2 separate regions of the Homo sapiens genome follow, and region 1 is linked to region 2. The links are contacts of gene promoters, found by promoter capture Hi-C in blood cells and fetal thymus (Javierre and others, 2016). All regions are on one chromosome and are shown on one strand. Each heading gives the region's core, a stretch centred on a gene start or on the middle of the fragment in contact. The rest is flanking DNA. Distances are from core to core; before and after follow the strand shown.

Region 1 (5,885 bases), core at 2,421-4,920, 390 kb after region 2:
AACTTATGATGCAAAAAGGCAGAATGGAAAGCCATGGTTGGCAAGATGATGACAAAAGCTAAATAAATGTCCTTGACCTAGAACTACAGAGAAGATGTTCTCTGGGAAGACTTGTGAGTGCACGTCTCAAATTTCGAAACTCTGATCTTCCTTGCCAACCCCTACCCCACCTCTATTCCCCTCCAAAGCCCTAAATATAAATCGCTATGTCTTCTTTCACAAAATAGAGACCAAACTCCTCGTCAGGCACAGAATATACAAGGCTTTTCTTTGGTCTAGACTCTCTACCTTTCCAGCTTCCTCTTCAGTTATCTCCCTCTCATAATCCATGCTCCAGTCAAAGTGAGTTATTGTCCTCATCCTCCATTATGCTGTGTCTTACCCCCAACACCCCCAGGTCATGTTCCCTCTCCACTAGACCCTTTCCTCCCTGCTTCACGTGGTGGAGAGTCTTTGGCACGTGTTGACTCATGTCCTCTGGATCCTCTCCAAATGTGTGAGGACATTCCTCACTTGTGAGCCTTGTTGGGAGACAGTGCTTGTCTTCCTTTACAGAAGTTGAAAAGACCCAGCACTCAATCTGCCGCTACCTTGGCAGATAAGATGTGGGGAGATAGCCTTGGCTTGGTCCATCAGCTGCACCTATTAGCAATATTGAATCTGGAAGTAATGATACAAACAAGCAGGGCAAGGAAGACTCCCTTTGGCCGTGGTGGTTGGCAGGAGTGAGGGGGGCAGCAGCATGTGATTTCCAGCAGCCAGTCTGTGATGCCACACCACCAATGGCATCCTCACCTCACTGGCACCACTTTCCCAAATCTTGTTCTCCATGTTTCCTAGAAATTGTATGATCATCTGATAGTCTCTCTATACATTCTCTGCTTAAAATGGCCAGTCTGTTTCTGTCACTTGCAATGAAGACTCTGACTGGCTGGGCACAGTGGCTCATGCCTGTAATCCCAGCACCTTTGGAAGGCCAAGGTGGAAGGATCCCTTGAGGCCAGGAATTCAAGATCAGCCTGGACAACATAGCAGACCCCATCTCTACCAAAAAACAGCTGGGCATGATGGTGCATGCCTGTAGTCAAAGCTACTAGGGAGGCTGAGGCAGGAGGATCACTTGAGCCCAGGAGTTTGAGGCTGCAGAACAAGACCCTGTTTCTTAACAAAAAGAAAGCCTTTGATATACCTGGCCAGTTTCTATTTGTCTTTTGAGACTCCTCTCAGTGACTATTTTCTTGGAAAGCAGTGCTCATCCCTGCCCCACTCCTAGCCAGTGTTTCTCCTATAGACTCCCATAAAAGTCTGGTCCATTCTGGCTCAGCGTTTATGCTGACATTAATAGCATTAGTCATATTATTAATGCTGACATTAATCACAGCATTTATTAACACTGTGTCAGGACCTGCCACTAACTCACTTGTCCCCCTTCTGGGCTGTAAGTTCTTGAGGACACAGACTAGGTTTTGCCCCTCTCTATCCCTAGAACCCAGAACAGTATGTTAACATGGCATGCAGTAATAGCATTACAGCAACAGTACTAATACCAGTAATAACAATAACTTTTATTGAGCACCTATTATGTGCCAAGGTGCAGAAAAAAATGCTTATTTGATAAATAATGTACACTGAAAATTGCTCACCGAATATTTTTGAATACTTTCATACTCACAGAGTATTTTTGTATTTTGAATACAGGCAACCCTGAGGAAAAATTGGTACATCCCACTTCACCAATTAATTCCCTTTTCATTTTCTCTCTCTTTTCTCCTTCTGGATATGTCTCTTGTGTTCCGCTCTTGCCCTCAAATAGATGTTATTTAATACCTAGAAAGATGAATAGCAGTGGCTACAGTGTTAGTTGCTAGTGACTGCGCTTGCCTTTCAGAAGAAGCTTCTTATAGTGTGAAAAGTTTTCAGAAGGAATGAGGTCTTTATTGTGGAATGCCTTACAGTAGGCCATACTTGTTTTTATAGCTTGGGTGCAGGAGCTGGAAATAGAGGGAGAATGCCTATGTACAAGTGTGCGAAGGAGAGGGAGAAGCTGCTCTCACCCCACTCCTGACTTCTTGTCTGCTCTCTTCTCAGCAAAGTCCTCTTCTGGGGTCTTCCTAGGCCTCACAAAGCTGCTCCCCAGGCCTTGGCCAACCACCTTCCCTGGAGCAGGCTCTCGGTGAGAAAACCTCATGGAGAGAAGAGGCCAGGAGTCCATGGCCACTCCTGTTTACTTTCCCATTCCCATCCTGCATGTTCCTGCCTCCTGCCTGAGTGAACACAGATTGACATGCCCTCTGTGAATGGCTGCAGACCCTTGTTCCAGTTCAGCTCTGTCCAGCACCTGTCATATGTATTACCTGAAAGAAAAACCTGAGATCAGCAGAAGATCCTCAGAGCAGACAAAAATTTTTCTTAAAAACAACAAGACAAGTGAAAAACAGGACAAGGGTGGGGACAGGACAACAGCAGGCTGCACCCAGAGAGTGCACCCAGGTCATCGGCTGTTCTTCATTTCTGACTTCCTGCTGGCTGTCCTGTGAGGTTGAGGTTACGTGGTTAGAGAAAGCCGGTTACTTGTTTCAAAACAAACAAAGTCCTCAAATCCTTTGAACAGCTAAAGGAATAGAGCACTCCTTGAATATGTATTCTTTCATATCCTCTGAACAGATCTTTATTTACAAGGAAGGCTGGTCTTGGCTGGAAAAATGGTAGTCAGATGTAGATCAAAATGATAATCTCAGAACACAGCACCAAGTGTCTTTTGCATGGGCCATGGGACTTAATGTCTTGATAGAACAGAGGATGTCAAGGAGAAAAAACTGAAGGCCACAAGAAAATGTGAATTTTTTAAATAGTTTACTCTGGTTGGAGGTTTGCCATATTCCTGACTCAACTTTATAATGTTTCCCATTTCTAAGCCAAATGGCTCAGAAGTGTGGCTGGGGTGTGACCTTGACCAGGTACAACCATGGCAATGAGTCTCTATTCTTTTTACTTTGGAATCCAACCAACACGTTAAAGCTCTTTGAATGTGGGTATCATATGAGTCAGTGCATGTGTGCTGACTGCCTGCTGTCCTCATAACACAAAGTGGAGTGGGGGCTATGGAGGCTACTGGATTATTTCCGTCAGTGTATACAGCAAAACTAAATTAATCCCCAAGTTTAGGCTTTTTGACCTCGAGTATCAAGACTAGTTTACTTGCATTGTGCAAATTAGTCACCAACCTACTTTGTATTATAGAGAGTTTTAAACTTTTGTGTATTTCTCCAGATTTGCATCAATGAGATTTTTGAAGTCAGCTTTTAAAATAAATACTAAAATGTAACTGCTTTTGGGATTCTTTTTCTTTATCCACCACACCACGAAAGTAGTAAGTTCCAACACTTCTCACCATTTGCAGTGCCACAATCTGGTTCAAGTCACCGTCAGCTCCCCCTTCAACACTGAGGAAGCCTCCAGGCCCATCTCCTGCCTCCAGTCTTATCCCACTCTCCTCCCTGTCAAGCACAGTCCATACAACACGCAGCAGGCAGAGGTATCTTTACCAGGTGTAAATCAGGTTACATAACTCTCTGGTTTAAAACTCTCCAAGGCTTCCTCTTACAACTAGAGAAAAACTTACCCTCCAGTCTTGGCCTACCAAACCCGCCTGATTGGGCTCCTTCATGGCTCTCCCAAGTGACCCACAACTTGCTTCCTGGTCCTCAGCACTCCAGTCCCTTCAGCTTTCTATCTCTTGAACGAATGCACCAAGCTCAGCCCTGCTCTGGGCCTTTGCACTTGTTCCTCCTTCTGCTGCGTGCCTCTTGCCTAGATCTTTGCACGGCTGTCCCCCTCTCATTATCTGGGTCTCAATTCACATCCACTCAACAAACCACTCTAGATAAATCAGCACTCTCTGCCCACTTCTTTTTTTTGTTGAGATGGAGTCTTGCTTGTCACCCAGGCTGGAATGCGGTGGTGCAATCTCGGCTCACTGCAACCTCTGCCTCCCGGGTTCAAGTGATTCTCCTGCCTCAGGCTCTGGAGTAGCTGGGACTACAGGCGCCCGCCACCACGCCCAGCTAATTTTTTGTGTTTTCAGTAGAGACGGGGTTTCACCGTGTTGGCCAGGATGGTCCGGATCTCCTGACCTCGTGATCTGCCCACCTCGGCCTCCCAAAGTGCTGGGATTACAGGCGTGACCCACTGCACCCGGCCTCTCTGCCCATTTCTACCACTCTCTCATTATCCTATTAGAGCCACGTCTGGCACTTAGCAGGACTTAAAACTAAATTATTTTAAAGCCCTGTTTATGTGTTTTTTGCTTGTTTTCCCCCAACCCACAAACCAGCCCAATATGAGAACATGAGCTCATTGAAGGCAGGAACTCAGATCCTTGCGGTCCCTGCTGTTCCCACTCCTGTCCCCCCATACCTGGAGCAGTACCCAGCCTAATACATATTTATTGACTATCTGATAACTTAACAAATTTAACATTCAGTAAAATTTACCCGATAAATGAACGAATGATTAGGGAACCACATGCATGACTCTCAACTACATAGTGTAAAGTTCCACCTACATGGCATTCTGGAAAAGACAAAACCATAGGGATAAAAAATAGATCAGTAGTTACCAGAAACTGGGTTTGGGATGTTAAGGGCTGACTATAAAGGGACATAAGGGAACTTTTTTGGATGATGGAACCCTTCTATATTTTGTTTCTGATGGCAGTTTCGTGTTAAAAATCATAGAATTGGTTGGCTAAACAGGATAAATTGTGTGTACGCAAGTTATACCTCAACAAACTGGATTTTATTTAATTGCCTGACAGATCTTTCACTTACCCTGGAATAAGCACCGAATGGTTTGTAGAAACGCTCTCATATTGGCCCTTTGTGAACAATCTCCATGTACACATATTCTGAGTGCAGAAACCCCGGGAGCAGCATGGTGGAGTAGAAAAGTATGAGCTGGGCATTAGACGGGCTGGGGTTTGAGTTTTGGCTTTGTTGCTTGTGTACTTCAGTTAGGATTTCTTAGTTGCAAGCAGCCCAGAACAGCTCTGGCCAGCCTCACCATGCCTTGGCTATGATAAAAGCCATAAAGAGGAATGGCACCGCTCCTTGATGCTTGTTGGCAGCAGGTACCTGGAATTATGCTCCCACCAAGACTGCATGCATGGGAGGGATGGGATTCCCCCAGAGAAAACCAGGGTGCTCTTAGGATGCTAGGCAGCCCAAACCAACAAACATCTAATGTATTGTGTGACCTTACATAACCTCTCTGAATCTCAATTTCCTCATACTTAATACCTACCTCTTAGAGTTTTAAGAATTTAACAAGATAACTATGTAGAAGGCCTAGAACATAATGTTGCTTTATAAATGTTATTTCTCTTTTCTTCTTCCTTTTGGTCTACATGTCTGAAACGTCTACCTCTAAGCACTCCTAAATTCAGTTAAAAGCTTAGTAATTTATCTACCTCTCCAAGCTAGAAGTCAGGAGTGAGTGTCAGTCGATTTTCTCATTGTTTTCACCTCCTAAATAAAGCATATACATCTCTCCTGGACTATTACATAAGTTTTACAACTGATCCACCTGCCTCTCCTCTCTGACTCTCTCTGCCGCTCTCCCTGAGGCAGTATAATATAATGACAAAGTGCATGGACCCTGGAGCCAAACCAACTGCCTCTAAATCTTGGCTTTGCTCCTTAACTACCATACAACCTCAATCAAGTTGCACAATCTTAGTGTGCCTGTTTCGTCATGTGTAAATTGGGGATAATATTCCTACCTCAAAGAGTTGTTCGGGGATCAAGTGATTTACTATACGTAGGCACTTAGAACAGTGCTTCGGTAATGGCAAGCGCTATCCATGCGTTTGTTCAGTAAATCCACCT
Region 2 (5,874 bases), core at 2,188-4,687:
GAAGTTCAGCAGATGGTCCATTTCTATTTTTCTGATAAAGTATTTGTTGTGAAAGAAATGTAAAGTTGAGAAGCCAAATAAAATCTCTGAATTGGCATTAAAGCAAAATAAACCTTTTTTCTATGGGCTCCAGTATCAGAGAGAGTTCAAGGTTTACTACGCTAAGTATCCACTGAAAAAGGACCCTTGTCGCAATACAGCTTAAAACTGATTTTCAGCAATTAAAAATTGTTTGTACATAGATACCTTAAAATTGTTTCAAAGTACTTTCAGTTATGGTGAATTCCAATATTTCACAAAGCTGAGTTTTTATTTACAAACTCAGAGAATCTTCAAAACTGTGGCATCAGAACTAGCCACAAGCTGGGTAAGAATGATTTGATATGAATAGTACAATGTAAATATACAATAAATTACTCTGTCATAGTCACGGTTGTCAAAATTTAAGAAAACAAATACATAAAATTAGTTAGAGACTTCCCATAGGAGGAATTAAAACAGATATGCAATTAAAATATTTATAACTAAAAAGAAAAGCACGACTTTTAAAAAAGGATTTTAATTGAGCTGTATTTTGGGGTTAGAATCATATCTAGTGCTTAGTTATTATTAGGAAGTCAAACTGCTCTCCTAGGTTAGTATATAAAGGTTATATTAATTGCACAAAATATATTAAATGCACAAGTGTGAGTGTTACTACGGAAACAAGGATCTTCATAAATTGATAATCTGAAATTATTATTATTTTTTTTTTGAGACCTAGTCTCACCTTGTTGCCCAGGCTGGAGGGGTAGCGGTGCAATCGCAGCTCACTGCAATCTCTGCCACCCAGGTTCAAGCGATTCTCATTCCTCAACCTCGCGAGGAGCTGGACTAGAGGCTTGTGCCACCATGCCTAATTTTTGTATTTTTTGTAGAGACAGGGTTTCACCATGTTGGCCAGACTGGTCTCGAACTCCTGACCTCAAGTGATCCACCCGCCTCAGCCTCCCAAAGTGCTGGGATTACAGGTGAGAGCCACTGCACCCGGTCTGTAATTAATTTTTTTCATGAAAATAATATAATCTGATTCTCAATCAGTAGTTGAGATATTTGCATATTTGTTAAAAACAGGGGAAGTTGGAATTACCTTGTTAAGATTTCGGCATACCTTGTTAATCACCAATTTGTGGTTTTTAAAAAGGAAATAAAATTATACTAAGCACTGTACACAATAAAAAAAGTTTGTGATATCTTATTTATCCTTGGAGACAAGTTACTCATACAGAAAATAAAGAGCACTGTCTGTGCTCGAGCTACCATTATGGCTCAGAAACCCCAGATTTTGTTTTTTTGAAATAATCTGAATATAACTTGAAAACACTGTCTCACAAAGAGTTAAACAAAGCACAAAAATATACTTCAACAAAAGGAATCAAAGTTGACCCAAAGGATGTTTGACTTGCCAAAAGTTATATAGGTAATAAATAGCAACTAAATCTAGATTATCCAATTCTAAGTCCCAAGACCTTCATAATTTTCCAAAGAGAGAAGGCCAACCGCCTAGTACAGCGTGGTTTGCAGTTTTAACATTGACTCTGCTGCTAACTTACCTTGACCCTTTCAAGTCAGTAAATTTCTCTGTACCTTTGTTTCTTCTACTTCATGGGGATATTCTGATGATAAACATAAGCAAATACTTGAACTCTGGCAGAAAAGCACTCTGCTGTGTTAATAATCTCCTCATCCCCATCACATATTTCCACTGATGCTATGCTTTCTCTGGTCTTAGTTTTAAGCTTAAATGAATGTGTGTGCTGTGGTGTGTGTGTGTGTGTGTGTGTTTCGGTGTGTGTAAGTTTTCTTTATAAATGGCTGGCATTCTAGCAAGATCCTTTTCCCCAACTTTCAAAACGCATGAATAGCAGCACAACATTTTCATTTTTAGAATTACCAAAGCCTTGCCACCCAAAGCTGTGCAGAAGATTTTAGAAATTCACAACAAAATTTTCCACCATATTACTCTCAACTTCTATAGAAATGCAACTCACAACTCATATTGGTCAGCTATTCCCCTATAAAGATTCAACACTACCAGTGGAAGATTATAAAAATGCATACGGCTTTTCAAATAATAAGAGAATAGTTCCAATTGCAAATAAAAACCAGTATACATTTTGAAAAATGAAGGTCACTAAATATTCCTAAAATAATGGAAACAGGTGATAATTAACATTCTAACAGTTTAGCCACATGTAATGTCCTCTATTTTGTCAACAGAGTCCAGCTGTTTTATCTACTTAAGTCTAAAAGAAATTTATCCTCATCATTAAAAACAGGAACTTATTTATAGGTAACTAAAATTAACAGAAATTTAATTTTAAATATTTTAATTTTATTTTTAATATTAAATTTAATTTAAATTTAATTTAATTTAAAATTTTTAATTTAAATATTTAAATATTTAATTTTAAATATTCAGTACTTGTACCATTATTTTCATTTTGAAAATGTATCTATCTTATAATGATTTGGCTTTATAACTTATAAAGACATGTAACTTACTTTATCCTTTAAAATAATATTTTACTAACAATATTAGCGTGTAGCTACATATCATATTTAAGAAACAGCAATCTACTAAGAAATGTGCCCAGGTCAAAAATAGAATAAGCCAATTGAAATAAAATATTATAGCAAATGATCAGTATACATCTACCAAATAAAAGGGTTATGAAAGGTGAAGACCAAGTAGTAATCTCCAAAAGTAATACAATGATTACTGATTGAAGTTTTATACCCGAGACTAAGCTACTATAATGAAATGTTTAAAAAATATTTTAGGGTATTATCACCTTAGGTCAATCTGATTATTATTTTGAATGAATGAATGAATGAAATGAATGAATACCCAAATGAATGAATACTGAAGTCATGACAATGTTTAACACCTTGAGATGCTCACAACAATTTGGAATACCCAGAGAAGATGACTTGAATACAAACAAACTATTTAAAATTCACTGTGGCTCACAGTAAAGATGCAGTGGGTTTCTATTTGTAGAACAAAGAATCTCAATCAAAAACCTATATATGACTAAAATATTCTCAAATGCAATTATCAAGGCTTTAGAAAGCATATATACTTTTTACTATGTAATTCTTTCCTGTTCCCCCACCTCCCTGCATTTTTTTTTAATGTTTGGCATAAGTGACCAACAAACCAGAATAGAATACACATTTTTAAAATACTAATTTACACATATTCTATTTAAGAACAACATACAACCACTCATAAATTTAGCCTTTTTAAAAGTGTCCTTTATATAAAACAGTGGGGAGCGGGGGAAATCCCTGCTATACATATGAAGCACAGTTTAAGCCCAATACAACTGACCAATCAAAATTAGTGAATACACTGCATCTCTCTGCAGTGGAGAGAAGCGACAAGGTAGGCTGTCATTCTGCAAAAGCTGCCCGAACAGGCTTTCCTCTGAAAAGCAGTGCCGTTCCTTTTTAGAAAGACTGAATCTAAATGTTGTCTCTGGAGACAAGAAGCCTTCAGTATGTTAAATTACTTTCATTATGTATTTTCAGATGCTTATTGATTCCACAGTAGGAAGAGTGAGAGACTGCAGCAGCCTCTAAGCAGCACTACATGTTCCATACATTAGCAGTACTGCTGAAACAATGGCACACTACAGACACATATTTTCATTAAGGTCATTTTCGAAGAGATGTTTATGACCCTCTTCCCCCAGTCCTCTACTAACAAGTGAACAAAATGAATCAATCCAAACTGGAAATGCTTCAACTACATCAAGAATTTATCAAATCTTTAGCAGAGGTAAGATTTGTTCCTATTATAGTATACAGCTGCTTTTGAACCGGCATAGTGGGGTAAAAATTACTTTGAAAAATTTCAGCCTAAATTTTAAGAGTTTGTTTAATTCTACTTATTGCTAGACATGTATTTTAAGATCTATTTCTTTTAAGACATGCTACATTTTAAATGTAATTTTTTAGGATGCATTGTTAAATACAAATATTCTTTGTAAATTCATTATGAAGACAGCTTTTGAGTCACTTCAGATATACTAAATATTCTTAATGTAATCAGTACAGTTTTTCTCCAGTGTTTCAAAAATGCTTCTGTTTCTTAAAAGAACTAGGTTTACTATTTTGCTGTTACTTATTACTTAATTTTATGTTAAGTTTATTATTTGGCATGTTCACTGAAAATTAATTTGCAGTTACAATTTTTATTACCTTTTGTATTTCAACCACATGAACAATTCATCAATGGAAATTTATAGTATCTTATGAAATCTGTTTTAATGAGTTAAAATTCAAACCATGTGCTAATAATTAGGCAAGTTACAATATTTTTAGAGCAAAAAATGTTGTTAAATTTATTACAAAGAAGAAATAACAGTATGTTTAGTGTATGCTAATTGTTCATCATCTCTGAAAATACAGGTTAGCTTCTAAAATGAGAGCAGAAATTAGTTTTAAAAAATATAGCTTTTCTCTCACAATTGTATTTGAAATGTGAACTCTATTGTTAAATAACATAATATATACAATCTTTATTAGGAAAAAAGACTTATTTAAAGAAACAATTTTATGCATATAGCTGTGGCTCTAATAATAACAGTTTGGTTATTTTGATAACAAATACTGGATAGTTTTTAAACAAAACTAAAGTAACTTGCAATTAATTACAAATTATTAAAAACCCTATTTCTTAACCAATTTTCTTCTTTTCACAAGGGCCAATAGCAGCTAATTCAGTATTTACAACTGACAATATGAAGAATGCAATTGACTGAGCATCTCCCTAGCTGTCTGAACTACGAACTGCAAGATGTTCTTGTAACACGACTTTAAGACATTAAGGAGTTAAAACCAGGGAATAGGTCTACATTACTGATGGAATATAAAAAATCAACTGTATCCTAAGAAGATGCTACATAAAATAACCACAAAAAGAAAAACAATATAACTGTAAAAGCCTGAAAAGAATTTTTAAAAGGGGAAGTTTATACTTTCATATACCAGAATTGTGGAAGTTACTGATTCTGGAAGACATAATGAAACATGAATTTCCAAAAAGAAAAGAAAATACTTTATCAGCACACAAAAGGAAGATTTAGGAAGTGTTTTCTGCACTAAATATTCAGATATTCATATCAATTGGTATGACTAATGGATTTTTCTATCTGACTTTTATGACCAATTATGTATCCTCTTCTAATGAAAACAAACAAAATTAAACAGCAGATGGTTTTTATCAAAAGGACATGGCCTGGATTTATAATATAAAGCAAGTTATGTGATCAAGAAATCATTTCAAAATAGTGAGCACTGCTATTAAAAACAGATTTACAATGGTAACAAAAGGATGTCTAAATATATTTTAGAAGCTACAAACGTTATGTTTCCTTTTTTGTTTTCACATATTCTGGAAAATAAAGAAATATTATCATGTACTCCATCAAAGGGAAACATAATTCCTATCATCTGAGGAAATTCCTCTTGGCCGTGACTTTTTAAAGCAAAACAAATACAAATATTATGTACTGTTCTTTAGAAATCCATCAGCCAACTAAATCTCATAATGCATGCAGTTGAAGTATTGGAGAGAAAACGAAAGAATTCCTACAAGACATGAAATAAAACACAGCTACTTCACTGTTGTCAGGTAAAAATTCATGTCAAAATCTGTCAATGATATCATGTATCAATTTGCCAAAAACTGTCATAGTGAACCAAAAGGCCCATAAGGCAACAGCAAACAGGTAGGTCAGAAGATGCATGCACCCCACCACACTGTTTAACATTTACGAAAGAACAGAATCTTGCTCTAGAGAAAATGTATTTTTCTTAATCATC

Evidence for each region. The method cuts DNA at HindIII sites, captures the fragments that hold promoters and counts their contacts. A CHiCAGO score of 5 or more calls a contact.
Region 1: a contact is called between a fragment that was not itself captured here and the fragment with the promoter of GPR22 in region 2, in 1 of 17 cell types (naive CD8 T cells). The highest score is 5.6, in naive CD8 T cells.

What each region holds. Positions count from the first base shown.
Region 1 is chr7:107,854,763-107,860,647 of GRCh38, forward strand. LOC105375444 (a long non-coding RNA gene) reads right to left here. Exons shown (of 3, transcript XR_927850.3): 3 at 1,717-2,354. Among named protein-coding and RNA genes, the nearest start is that of DLD, 33 kb to the right of the region's middle. The HindIII fragment of the contact is 3,556 bases long and covers 1,893-5,448 here.
Region 2 is chr7:107,466,620-107,472,493 of GRCh38, forward strand. GPR22 (G protein-coupled receptor 22) reads left to right here and starts at 3,438. Exons shown (of 3, transcript NM_005295.3): 1 at 3,438-3,826; 2 at 4,753-5,683. The region is part of intron 6 of COG5 (component of oligomeric golgi complex 5); the gene reads right to left. The HindIII fragment of the contact is 4,703 bases long and covers 1,777-5,874 here.